2 separate regions of the Homo sapiens genome follow, and region 1 is linked to region 2. Evidence: promoter capture Hi-C in human tissues and cell types (Jung and others, 2019). All regions are on one chromosome and are shown on one strand. Each heading gives the region's core, a stretch centred on a gene start or on the middle of the fragment in contact. The rest is flanking DNA. Distances are from core to core; before and after follow the strand shown. Region 1 overlaps GIGYF2 (GRB10 interacting GYF protein 2). Region 2 holds the start of INPP5D (inositol polyphosphate-5-phosphatase D).

Region 1 (6,838 bases), core at 3,273-5,772, 270 kb before region 2:
AGTGCCCTTCTACATAATTTACTAAGAGGTCAAGGCAGAAGGATCACTTGAGGCCAGAAGTTCAAGACCAACCTAAACAACATAGCAAGACCCCCATCTCTGCAAAAATTAAATAAAATGAAATTTTAAATTTAGCTGAGTGTGGTGGCATGTGCCTGAGGTTCTAGCTACTTACACGAAATAATTTCTTTTTTTTTTTTTTTTTTTTTGAGACGGAGTCTTGCTCTGTCACCCAGGCTGGAGAGCAGTGGCGTGATCTGGGCTCACTGCAAGCTCCACCTCCCAGGTTCATGCCATTCTCCTGCCTCAGCCTCCTGAGTAGCTTGGGACTACAGGCGCCCGCCACCGCGCCCGGCTAATTTTTTCTATTTTTAGTAGAGATGGGGTTTCATCGTGTTAGCTTGATCTGACCTCGTGATCTGCCCGCCTTAGCCTCCCAAAGTGCTGGGATTACAGGTGTGAGCCACCGCGCCTGGCCACAAAATAATTTATAAAAGCTGCAATATGGTTTTTGATATATCAGATATTACATAATAACTACAATAGATTTAGATTATGACTTCTCTGGTAAACCAAGTGATATAGTTTGGATGTTTGTCCCCTCCAGATCACATGTTGAAATGTGATCGCCAGTGTTGGAGGTGGGGCCTGGTGGGAGGTGTTTGGGTCATGAGGGTGGATCCCTCATCCCCTCCCCACTGTAATGAGTTCAAGAGTCTGGGATCTCTGTCATCTTTCTTGCTCCCTCTCTCACCATGTGACATACTTGCTCTCACTTCACCTTCCACAATGAGTAACAGCTTCCTGAGGTCTCACTGGAAGCCAGACAGATGCTGGTGCCATGCTTGTATAGTCTGCAGAACCACGAGCCAAATAAACAACTTCTTCTTCTTTTTTTTTTTTTAATAAATTACCCAGCCTCAGGTATTCCTTTATAGCCATGCAAAATGGACTAATAAACCAAGGAAAGCCAGAATATAGTTCTGACATTCCAGACACGTCCTGCAGGTAAGAGCAAGGTCATAGATAATAAAACCCTTGCTTGGTGGTTCAAAACAGCAAACATTTATTATCTCAGTTTCTGTGGGTTGGGAATCTAGAAGCAGCTTAGCCTAGCTGGGTGGTTCTGGCCCAGGGTTCTTGTAAGGCTGCACTCAAGGTGTCAGCCCATGCTGCAGTCTCTCAAAGCTCAACTGGGGTTTGATCCACTTCCAGACTCACTCATGTTTCTGGTGGTAAGTCTCAGTTCTTTGCCATGCAAGCTTCTCCACGAGGTCTGTGTCACTACATGGCAACTAGTGTCCTTCAGAGAAAGTGTCCAAGATGGAAACTACAGTCTTCTTTAATATTTTAAGTGGCATCTCATCACTTCAGCTGCATTCTGTTAGTCCAGCTTATAATTGGGGGTAGAGGATTCCACAGAGATCAGCAGTCAGGGATTGTTGGTGAGCTCTTAGAGGCTGTCCACCACAATAAGAAAGCAGCAGATCATGTCTTCCATTCTCCCAAGATATTTTATCTTTCAGTAGAATGATACCTAGTAGCAGACTAACAACCATATGGACAAGCAGGATGCTGAATCTCAATATATGTAAGATGGAATATAACAGAATGACCAGAAATTAGAATTTCATTTTCATATGCTGTTGTTCAATTATTTTTTCACTTTTAGTATGGATTAATTAAAAGGATTGAGTTTGTCATTATGAGAACTTGAACTTTTATTGTTATAAACTGAGGACATCAATGTATGTTATTCTGGATTTTCAACTATTTTGATGTGAGATTTTATAAATGTTATGAGTTATATATGTTAGCACATGTGGAATGGTGACTGAAGAATTTGTTTGCACAATTTAGAATGATCTTGTCCTTTTAAAATACCAGTTTAGTTTACTTGGTATACCAGGCTCTCTTTTGACATTAATGTAACTTTTGAGACATTAGGTTAGACATAGCTTAGCTTTAAATTCTGTCCAAAAGCAATTTATGGTATGCCTGTATTGTATTAGGTGCTAGAGTAAATGAGGTTATACTACTTTTCAATTTTTTTTTTTGAGACGGAGTCTTGCTCTGTCACCCAGGCTGGAGTACAGTGTCGCGATCTCTGCTTACCGCGACCTCCGCCTCCTGGGTTCAAGCCATTCTCCTGCCTCAGCCTCCTGAGTAGCTGGGATTACAGGCACTTGTCACCACACCCAGCTAATTTTTGTATTTTGAGTAGACATGAGGTTTCACCACATTGGCCAGGCTGGTCTCCCAACTCCTGACCTCGTGATCCACCTGTCTCGGCCTCCCAAAGTGCTGGGATTATAGGCGTGAGCCACCACGCGGCCTGCTTTTCAGTTTATAATCTGTTTTGGAATGAAAGACGGCCTGAAATGTACAGATATCATGTTTAGGCAGAATCACCAGTAGGTGTTGGTTATATAAAGTATGTTGTATGATGAAAAATATCTTATAACTTTAAAAAGTATGTGCTAGTAAGGAAGGATTGGCAAGATACACTGTTAGTGAAAACAGCAAACAAAACAACATTTATAACATCCTGAGGGTGGCGTTTGTGTGTGTGGATGAGGGAGCTATGTATACATGTGTAAGTGTACCCATGGACAGTGTTTGGAAAGACTTTATAAGAAACTTGGTGATGGTTCCTTCTGGGGAGTACGACTCTGAGGGTCTTGTGTAGGAAGATGGACTTTTCATTGTACGCTTTTTCAAAAAAAATTTTACATAATATTTTTGTTTAAAAAAATTGCCCAGTCTCTGAACATGGCTTTAAGAAATGTGTCTAATAATATATACATATACCCACTGTTATTTTAGTGATTTTTTTCTGAATATTGAAATGGACCCATTTGCAGGAAAGCTTGATTTGAGCTGTGAAGTTTGTTTTCAAAGCCTATACTGGCAGAGGCTCATGTTTACTTACCATATTATTTTCTTTATAGGGAGACCAAATTTTGAGGAAGGTGGACCAACATCAGTAGGGAGAAAGCATGAATTTATACGCTCAGAAAGTGAAAATTGGCGCATCTTTAGAGAGGAACAAAATGGAGAAGATGAAGATGGAGGTTGGCGACTAGCTGGATCAAGGAGGGATGGAGAGAGGTGGCGACCTCACAGTCCTGGTAAGAATTCTGTTGAGTAAAGGCACACAGGGACTGAAATAAGGGAAAGTTTGATGGAAATAGGGATTAAATGAAAAAGATAAACTGGCTTAAAAAATGTGGGGGTGGATTCATATTATTTATGCTGTCACAGTTTTATTACTAGAAAAAATTGCAACATAAAAATTTCCTACATCTATTCAGTTGATTGAAATCACTTTTCTATTTTTCTGGGGCAAATAGTGTAGTTTAATGGGAAGCACCTGCGCTCAACTGCAGAAATGAGGGTTTCATTCAGTTTTGTCTACCTCTAAATCTCTGAATCTTTTTTAGCATTCTTTAAGATTTATAAATGTGTAAAAATTACACACTTGAAATATGTGCTTCCCTCCCCAACAATGAGTGTTTTTCCTAACAAGAAAGGGTTTATTCTTTCATTTTTTCCCTTTTGAAAATGTGATTTAACCTTATTTGAAGAATAAGCTTTAAACCTAGGTCAGAAACATAATCACAAGTTCATTCTTATGTCCTTCTAACTTTAGAAGAAGGAGAGACAATAGTAGTGATTAGTGGCTTTTAAAGTTCTTCTGTTTGTCTCTTAAAAATGCTCAAACTGTTCTTCTTGGACATTAGATATGCTAGTAATTGAAGACACTAGTGCTTTGTGTTAAAGTTCATCCTGTACCACAGTGCTGATTCCATGCCTCATGATAATCAGATGCAACTGTAGTTCCAATTGTGGGGTCATGCAAAACTGAAGCACACAGAGTATATGTGGAATGCCCTATGAATTTCATGTGTATGACAGTATTTTATCAACCATGTGCCAGAGGGGCTTACCTTTAATACAGGAAATTATGATAAGTAAACTGTTTTCACTTTTAAAAATCAAGTTATTAGCAAAACCACTAGCTTAGATCTGGGTAGACATTATAACAGGCATTCAGAGTATTTTAAGGAAGTGGTAGGTAGATAGAAACATACTGAAGTTAATGTTTGGGTAGAGTTAGGATGGTTTTATACCAACTCTTCATGGCTGCCTCTTGGGTGGGTTTTCTGTCATTAGTGGGCATTGTTTACATCACAAGGTCTAGACAATTTTCATTAGTCTGTGACCTGGGCCAGATGTTATAGTTCTCTAAAAGGCATCACTGCATTTTATGCTGAGCTTGTCCGTAGGCAGAGGGTTTGTAGACTATGTTCCCAACAAGCATTCAGTGAAGAATGGATAGGATCTGGGCTGAGAGAGAAAAGAAATTCCAGCTGGTCAAAAACAAACAAGGTGAATGTTTTGGAAGATGAACTGTGTTTTTTGAGCCCAAATGTCTGATGTTGATTCTATTAAAGGGAGTTTAACAAAGTACCTCCCACCCAACAACTTAGAATTTGGTTATATATTATCTTCTTCTCATCTTTTCTGAATCTTTCTTTCCCCCTAATATTTGACTTTCATATCATTTTTGTCATCAACTTGTGTATCTTCCAGAACTTTTAATCCATATACATATATATTTTTTCAGTCACACCTGTGGCTGAAATCCATATATTTTTAAAAGACAGTTTGGGGGATATAAAGATCCCCCAAATATAAAGTTTGGGTCTGAAAAAACAGTGTAAATGCATTTTAAAAAAGAATACGATTCACTTTTTAAACCCAGTATATTCAAAGTATAGCCTGATTATAGCAGTTTTCATATGTTAACTCTTAACGTTTGTTAGTTTATGGTTAATCTTTTATTAAGATTTGAGTAAAACTTTAAATTATTTTAACTGATTTTATGAAAATAGTATCCAACTTTAGTTTAGATGTAGGGTCTGTAAATCAGCAGTCAGCCTTAATAAGTACCTTGCATGTCTTACTTGCTATGTTTAGTTTCGTGAGTAAAATTTTATGAACTACTGATAAGATAACATTATGGGATATAAAATAGGGCTTCCGGCTGGATGTGCGTGGGGGTGGGAACATTAAGGACAGGGAGGCATCCAGTCTGGGAGCTGAACCTAGGAAAGTCAGTAAGAGGAGAAACATGAGCCAGGTACCTAGAAGGATAGATTCCTGTCATGATGTACATTTAGACTGTTAGAAATGAAAGCAGTACAGAGGGCTCTGGAATTCATTTGATCATGAAGACTCTTTTCACATAATGGCTCTAGGTTTCCACGTAAGCAGTCTGAGTATAAAATTCCTTAGTTCTCATAGGAAGTAGTAAATAGTGTTTTGTTGTTTTTATATGAAGGGATGGGAGTGTGGGACTAAGATTTCTTTTTTGTGAGTGGCTTATCAGATGCTACCTGTATTTGGCATTTTAACGTTTTGCCCTTTGTTTTCCAATTTGATTTTTAGATTGCTGGTTTTTGCAAAGTTTGTCTCAATAGTGAGAACATTTAACTCTGGCCACATTTCTTTTTCTTATCCCCCACAGAGAAAGCAGTCAAGGATGGAAAATTCTAATAGGTTAAAGCCTGCTTTTCTTTTTAAGACTCTTTTAGACTCAGGTCTGTCAGATTTTAGCAAGAGTTTCCCTTTCTTTTTTTTAGAAAAATATCTTAAGTAGGATCTCTTATTATTAGGCAATCTTTTCTTCTGTTGGGAAATGTAGATTTGGGAATGTCCGTAGGGGTATTATATGGATAGGGAGAATTAAGAGATGAGAAAGAAGGGAGAGGAGTAAGTATGTTATTGTGGAACAAGCAGCAGAGGGTGCAGAATTGGATTTTAGTTCTACTTTGCCATGTGCGAGTTACTTCTGCTGGCAAAGTTTTAGTTTCTTCTTAAACTATAAAATTAGGATAGTGAACTTCATAAAATCTCTGTGACAACTTTCAGCACTGTAATTTTGTGAATTTTTGGGGGAGGATCAGAATTACAAGTGGGAACCTGGCATTAATAAATAGTCATGATGAGTTTGATATAAGTCAACACAGGGAGCTGATTTTATCCACAAACAATGATATTTTCATGGGAAGAAAGAAAATGCTTTAAGATTGGGCAAAAGGAAGGTGTAAACTTCAGTATGGAAGGATGTCTAGTGCATTAAGTCTGGATGAGGAGTTGGCGGCTAATCAGTATTTTAATCAAGTACCTAGGACTTACTGAAAGTGCGTACTTGGAATACAGTGTCCTTTAAATGTACTGCATTTTAGATTTATCTTTTAAAGCTTTAGAGTATGTTGCCTGGCTCAGTACTTAAGTACTGTTGTCATCTCGTAATGGTACATATACTCTGAACTCTGAACTTCATTTAGTTGCCTAATGTTCTCTTTACTAGGTCAGTCCATTTGAGTTTGCGGTCACTTGTAGTTTTCTCCTTTATTTTCTATTCCTGATTTTCTTATTCAAATACTGTCATAAAACTTTTCTAAGGTTTGTGTCCTCCTTCTCATCTCAGATGGCCCTCGTTCTGCAGGCTGGCGGGAACACATGGAACGACGTCGGAGGTTTGAGTTTGATTTTCGAGATAGAGATGATGAACGGGGTTACCGAAGGGTTCGCTCTGGCAGTGGGAGCATAGATGATGACAGGGATAGCTTGCCCGAATGGTGCTTAGAGGATGCTGAAGAAGAAATGGGTACATTTGACTCATCTGGAGCATTCCTTTCTCTAAAAGTAAGAAACGTGTTTTAAATGTCATGACCAGCATTAACCTTATACCAAAGCCAAATCTGCTGTTGATCTTTGGTTTTATTCTCTTTCTACAGAAAGTACAGAAAGAGCCTATTCCAGAAGA
Region 2 (7,128 bases), core at 3,676-6,175:
TCTAACTTCACGGTCAAGTATTTGCCCTTCTATTAATCAGGGTTCTTCAGAGAAGCAGATAGATAAGTAGATAGATTAGATAGATAGGGAGATAGATGGCTAGATAGATAGGGAGATAGATGGCTAGATAGATAGATAGATGGCTAAATAGATAGATGGATGGCTACATGGATGGATAGATAGATGGCTAGATAGATGGATGGATAGCTACATAGATGGATGGATAGATAGATAGATAGATAGATGGCTAAATAGATAGATGGCTAGATAGATAGACAGACAGATGGCTAGATACATAGACAGATGGCTAGATAGATATATGGATAAATAGATGACTAGATAGATAGATGACTAAATAGATAGGCAGATCGATAGATTTATAGATCAATAGATAGATAGGTAATAGTTAGACAGATGGCTAGACAGATGGATGGCCAGATAGATAGATAGATGGCTAGATAGATAGTGACTAGATAGATGGATAGGTAGATGGCTAGATAGATAGATGGATGGATGGTTAGCTAGATAGCTAGATAAATGGCTGGATAGATAGATGGATGGCTAGATACATAGATGACTAGATAGATAGTGGCTAGATGGATAGATAGATGGATGGCTAGATAGATGGCTAGATAGATAAATAGATGGATAGATAGATAGATGGCTAGATAGGTGGATAGATAGGTGGATGGCTAGAGAGATACACAGATGTATGGATAGATAGATAGATAGATAGATAGATAGATAGATAGATAGATAGATAGATATGGAATTGGCTCATAGGATGGTCAAGGCTGGCAAGTGCAAAGTCTGTAGAGTGGGCTGGCAGGCTGGAGACCCCGGGAAGAGTTGATGCTGCGGCTCGAGTCCATAGGCAATCTACTGGCAAATTTACTCTTTGGAGGAAGTCAGTCTTTTTCTATTAAGACCTTCAGCTTATTGGATGAGGCCTACACACAGGAATTGCTTTACTCAAAGTCTACTGATTTAAATGTTCATGTCATCTAAAAAATACTTTCAGAGAGACATCCAGAATAATGTTGACCAAATATCTGGGTCCTGAGGCCCAGCCAAGTTGACATAAAATTAACCATCACTGCTCCCTTTGCTTTTAGCACTCAGTGAGTGAACACTTTCAGCCCCTGCACCCCAAGCCATGAGTGATATCTATCTATCCACCCAGGCTGGGGGGAGTGGGAGCCCTGGGGCATAGTAAAGGGCTTCGATGAACACAGGAGGGGAAGGGAAGTACAGAGACAAATGCTTAGATATATTGTATATCTGTTAACATTGTATAGTAAATATATATTATATATATATAATGTGTGTGTATATATATACACACTATATATATGATGTAATGTGTGTGTGTATGTGTGTATATATATATATATATATACACACACACACACACATATATATATACAGTATATATTGACCTCTGCCTCCCCTCTCCTGGCTCAGTCCCTTCTCAGACCCTGAAATTCTTTCTGTTTCTTGTCCACGGTGGAAGGACCCCTGGACAAGAAGCTTGGTGTCTCCATTGTCCCTCTCTCCCAGCCTGCCCTGACCCTGTCCTGAGACTCAAACCTTCCTGTGACCCGCCCTCACTTAAGGTTGCCAAAGCAGAATTGCTCCAATGCCTTGGCCCTGCCATGTCAGCCCTCCTCTTCAACACTGAGGCCTGTCTGTTCTTCCCGGAGCTTCTAGAGTTGGCTGAGTGCCCATGACCAGGTGCCTGCCAGACCACCCTGATGCTTCTCACTGCCCAGCTTTCCCAGAAATTGTTCAAGTCCCCTGATGGGGCCTGGGGCTTGCCAGGGCTGGCAGTGCCTTTGGGCAGGTGCCCCAGTCTGGACCCAGGATCACATGAGTGAGTCTGACCCCACTTCTTCCCCTCAGCTGCTTTCCAAGCCTCTGCCCCATGGGTGAGGTTGACCAGATGCTCCAAGGAATGCATAGACTCACACTATGCAATCGCTCTGGGGCCCTATGGCTGGGTGTGACTCCTGGGCACAGCCTGGGGAGCAGGTTTCTCCTTTGAGTGGCCCCGAGCATTGAGGACAGCAAGGATAGTGGCAGGTGGTCTAGGCCCTCATCACCCCTGCCAGCAGCAGCTGGCAGTCCCTTATCCCTTCTGGAGGCTCCTGTCCACTATCAGGCAGCTGCCTCCTCCAACGTCTTTCGAGGACATTGCTCCACAGCACCGATACACCCACGGGCTCTTCCCATCAGCATCATCTCCCACCTCCCATCCATGTGGTGATGCTGAGCTCTCCACATTGATCCTGCCAAGCCAGATGCAGGCAGACATCCCTGGAGAGTGAGACTGCTCTTGTATGTGGAGGGCCAGGGTGCAATCATCATCAAATGGGATCTCAAGGTAGGAATGCAGTGATTATGGCCTAACACATTCAAGAGAATATGGCTGGAAGATGTGTGGTTCTACCTTTATGCTATAAAATTTGGAACAGTAATTTTTTTTTTTTTTTACTGTGTCGCTCTATCACCCAGGCTGGAGTGCAGTGGCACGATCTCGACTCACTGCAATCTTCGCCTCCTGGGTTCAAGTGATTATCCTGCTCAGCCTCCAAAGTAGCTGTAGCTGCGATTATAGGCACGTACCACACCCACCTGATTTTTTTTTTTTTTTTTTTTAGTAGAGACAGGGTTTCACCATGTTGGCCAGGCTGGTCTCAAACTCCTGACCTCAGGTGATCCACTCCCCTCAGCCTCCCAAAGTGCTGGGATTACAGGTGTTAGCCACTGTGCCTGGCCACTCTCTAGCCATTATTTGAAGTCTTCATTGATAAATCACTATCCCTCACATGAGTTTGTGAATTTTGTAATACGTTAAAATTATTTATATTGACTGGAGACCTACAAAAAAAAAAAATCCACCCACCAAAAGGGCAGCTCTGATCTAGATACTGGGATTTCCTGAATGTGGAGGGCAGAAGGGTGGGGGACAAGCCAGCTGACCATGCTGGATAGATCAGGCAATTGGGTGGAAAAGGAAGCAAAGTTGGGATGGGCCTTAAAAATGAGGGAAGAGTGCCCGTGTGGCGTGTGTGCCAGGGGATCTCACTCTGTGGAATGGCAAGGACCGTGGGAATAGAGGTGTGAGAGGTGGGGGGCTGGGGGTTTGGGGGAAGCTCTCTAAGTAGGGCAGTCTTGGCATGGTAGGGGTCTCTAGAGATGAGTGGGTGGAGGTGTAAAGGGACCAGTATTGCAAATGGATCCTCCTGGTGGCGTGGTCCAGGACTTCATGGATGTTGGTGGAGGCCAGCAGGGAAGTGAGAAGGGTGTGAAGGTACACAATGGGAGCATAGGAGATGACCCCATAAGGAGGGGGTGGACAGGTGCTGAGTGGAGGCGTGGGTGGGGAATGAGAGGCCTCCACACTGGGCTGCTGCAGAGGTGGCGTGCTGCGGAAGGGCCGGAGCATGGAGGCCAGTTCCCATCACCACTCTATCCCCACGCCTGGCTCCCAGCCTGGCCAGAGGTCCTTGACTGGGAGTGCTTTGTCTGCCCTACAGACTCGCCTGCCATGTGTGTTGCTCAGCGGGGAGGTGCTGGGGGCCCTGTTCTGGGACAACCATCAGTGTGACACATGTTGAGCCCCTGGGCACATGTGAGCTCTTTTACGAGCTACGTCCTTCAAGTTAGACAAGAAGAAACCAAGGCCGAGAGAGAGAAGAAACTTGACCAGGTTCCCACAGCTTGAATGTGGTGGCGCTGCCTGGCTGGTGCCCCTTCCTGGAGGGAGTCTGTTGTCATGTCCTGGAGGCCAAGGCCTGGATGTGGGATGGTGGGGGCACTCTTTGTGCAGCGGGTCAACACGTGCCCCTTCGGCCTTGGTGGGCCGGACCCAAGGACGGAAGGTGCCCAGGTCTGGGGGCTGAGGGATGGGTGTCCACCGCAGAGCCCTCAGAAATGACTGGTCCTGGATGGCGGTCCCTGGAGAGGCAGCTCCTCTTTGAGTGGTGGGCATATGTGGCCATGCCCAGTCTTGGAGGCGGTGCAGTCCGACCGGCCACCCCGACTGCTGAGACGCAGGACTCAGCACCCAGTGTTGTCCTTGGCCAGGCGGCCAGCCTGCCCTGTGGGGCTTTGGGGTTCTCCTCTCCGAGCTTGTTTCCCCAGCATCCTGGAGAAGCCCAGGGAAAAACCCAGCCTATGTTCCCGCTGTAAACGGCCCACATCCCCTCCAAGCTCCCTTTGTGTGTCTCCAAGCTGGACTGCAGGGATCAGAGCTGTGCTGCCCGTGCAGCACCCACCCGCCCCTGGGAATGAGGGTAATGGGGTCACAGAGCCATCACTTGGACCTTGGCGCCCTCGGCTGGTGGCAGCCAAGGTCTCCCAGCACCCAGGCCGCTGGGAGTCTCTAAAGGGGAGGGGTGGGGCTCGACTGTCCCCTCCCCCTCAAGTTTGCTCTGTCCTGGGCAGGCCGTAGTCCCAGTTGAGAAGCTGTGCCCCCTTGGGTGTTTTGGAGGTTCAGGGTGGGTGCTGAAAAGCCCTGAGGGAGAGCAGAAGGCTCGGGGGCCTGTCTAGGGCATGGCATCCCACGTGGGTGTCAGCACGGCCGCAGAAGAACCACTTCTCTGGCCCACCCATGCCTGCTAGGCCATGCTTCTTCAGAAGTGGCCACAACTCTCCTGACGTCTCCAGAGCCGGTCATTCCACCCAGGGGGACTTCAGCTGCCACTGGACACTTCAATTGTACGCTGCGACCAGTTGCCAGGAAGGAGAGGGCTGGCAAGAGAGCCGCGGCAGCCGTGGCAGGGTGTAGGGGACGGTGGACGGCCAGGGCCCCCCCCTCTCTCTCTTTCTCTCTCTCTCTCTTGCTTGGTTTCTGTAATGAGGAAGTTCTCCGCAGCTCAGTTTCCTTTCCCTCACTGAGCGCCTGAAACAGGAAGTCAGTCAGTTAAGCTGGTGGCAGCAGCCGAGGCCACCAAGAGGCAACGGGCGGCAGGTTGCAGTGGAGGGGCCTCCGCTCCCCTCGGTGGTGTGTGGGTCCTGGGGGTGCCTGCCGGCCCGGCCGAGGAGGCCCACGCCCACCATGGTCCCCTGCTGGAACCATGGCAACATCACCCGCTCCAAGGCGGAGGAGCTGCTTTCCAGGACAGGCAAGGACGGGAGCTTCCTCGTGCGTGCCAGCGAGTCCATCTCCCGGGCATACGCGCTCTGCGTGCTGTGAGTACAACCTGCTCCCTCCCCGGGCACAGATATGACAGAGGGGCTTAGAGGGGGCCCAGCTTTGAGATGGGTTGTTCTTATGTCACAGGACAGAGTGATCTGACATGCACACTTCCCCGCCACCCTGTCATGGACCTTGTCCTTGGAGTTCAGAGAGCTGGTCTCATGGCAGGTTTTGCAGCCTTGGAGCTGTCAGAACCACTCTGAGGCCTGATGTTACACCCCAGCTTCCCATGAGCTGTATGGACCTTGTGGCTTCCTTGGAGTCTGGGGACCGAGAGAAGGGAGTTTGGGCTTTTGGAGCCAGGAGGAAGCTCAGGGCTCTGTGGAGGTGGGTGTGTTAGAGATCAGCTCAAAGATGCCCAGCTCAGAAACCCTGAGAAGAGCAAAGGTGGCAAGGGGGACCCTTCCTGGAGCACCCAGGCTTCGGGCCCCTGGAGGAAGCTGTTGTTTGGCGAGCCAAGAATATGGGGTGAGTTTAATCAAGAAAGGACTTTCCATTCAGTCAGAAGCTGCTTTCAGGGGCCTGAGAGCAGAGGAAGTCACCATTACCACCAGCGAGCAGCCTCTTCTCTCTCCTGAGCACTTGGCTGTGACCGCTGCCCACCCCCCACCCCCTCAATTTGGGTCTCTGTCACCATCAACTCCTCCCACTGCCCGGTTGGGGATGTTACTGAATGTACCAGCTGTGCTAACAATGGAGGAACCAGCCACTTGCTGAAGGTTCCTTTCTAAAACCCCCTTCCTGTCCAGCGTCTGAAGGAGGCCCTTGCCCTGCAGCTCTCGGTCTAATCATAGGGGGGCCTTGCCCTGCAGCTCTTGGTCTAATCATTTTGCCGGGGCCTCAGGCAGTGCCGGAGTGTAGTCAGGGAAATGTGTGTCCACCTGAACATCTCAAGTAGCATCCCTGGGCTGGCAGAAATGTTCCCCCGAGCAGCCAGGGCCTTGTGCTTCTCCAGGCAGGAGGGGAATTGGGTGATGAACCCAGACCTGTTTTGAATACTGACTCACAGCTGGGACCTGTCGTGCTAAGCATTTGTTAGCCCATTTCATCCTCACCACAACCTAAAGTGAAGGTCCTGTTAAAAGCCCCACTTTGCAGATGAGAAATCTGAGGCCCTGGCAGGTTAAGTGAGTGACAACAGTCAAAGCCACGGCCATCTGCCCCCAGAGGCTGCAGCTGAGACCAGCAGCCTGTGGCCCAACCTCTCCTGCTCCCAGTCCAGCGGGGCAGGCATGTAGCCTTGCAGGGCTGGAGAAAGAAGCAAGGGGAGCCACAGTGTTTACAGGGTCAGCTGGGGCACTGGAAACCAAGCCAGGCTCGCAGCTGGTCGCTGGCCTGTGCTGACAGTCTGCAGCCCCACCTCCAAAGACTGGTTTCCTGTGTCCCCTCTCTCATGCCTCAGGGGAAGGAACGCAGGCCCAGGCTGCCTGGACTTCCCCAGTGGGGACCTGCTGCTGCCGGGGCCTTAGAAGGAGCAGGAAGATTCTCTTAGGCCTCTCACAAGCCCAGTCTGACTCCACCTGGCCCATGTGGGTTACTTGGATTTCTCTCCTGGCCCAGTGGGATCTTGTCCTGGCTGTTTGGTGTTGGCTGAGCCGAGGGCTTCCAGGGCCCCATCTCATTAACCTTCAACACAGCCCTTTGACCAGGGCTTGCTTTGTGGTTGCTCAGGTTACAGACATGGGGCGTGGGTCTCTCTGACTCCGAGCCGTGAGCATCTTAACGTCTAGGATTAGCCTGAGCCAGAGTCAGAGCTGGAGAGGCCTTGGAGAAGCTCTGGTGCAACAGCCCTGGCTTTTCAGGAGGTAGACAGAGGGCAGAGAGCCTGAGGCCTTTGTCCACCATGCTGGCTGGGGTCAAAACTGCTGGGATCCAGGCCAGTTCTCGTATTCCTTCCTCTACCTCTTCTCTCTGAACCCTTGTCT

Evidence for each region. The method cuts DNA at HindIII sites, captures the fragments that hold promoters and counts their contacts. A contact is called where the count stands out against the background at its distance.
Region 1: a contact is called between a fragment that was not itself captured here and the fragment with the promoter of INPP5D in region 2, in 3 of the 25 tissues and cell types used here (heart left ventricle, hippocampus and thymus).

The regions. Positions count from the first base shown.
Region 1 is chr2:232,784,199-232,791,036 of GRCh38, forward strand. It overlaps GIGYF2 (GRB10 interacting GYF protein 2), which reads left to right. Exons shown (of 29, transcript NM_001103146.3): 9 at 2,952-3,131; 10 at 6,500-6,717; 11 at 6,810-6,838. Among named protein-coding and RNA genes, the nearest start is that of KCNJ13, 11 kb to the left of the region's middle. The HindIII fragment of the contact is 4,915 bases long and covers 2,066-6,838 here.
Region 2 is chr2:233,055,417-233,062,544 of GRCh38, forward strand. It overlaps INPP5D (inositol polyphosphate-5-phosphatase D), which reads left to right and starts at 4,926. Exons shown (of 27, transcript NM_001017915.3): 1 at 4,926-5,196. The coding sequence starts at 5,063. RefSeq lists enhancers at 4,601-4,880, 5,481-5,570, 6,657-7,128 and a silencer at 5,081-5,160. The HindIII fragment of the contact is 3,353 bases long and covers 4,436-7,128 here.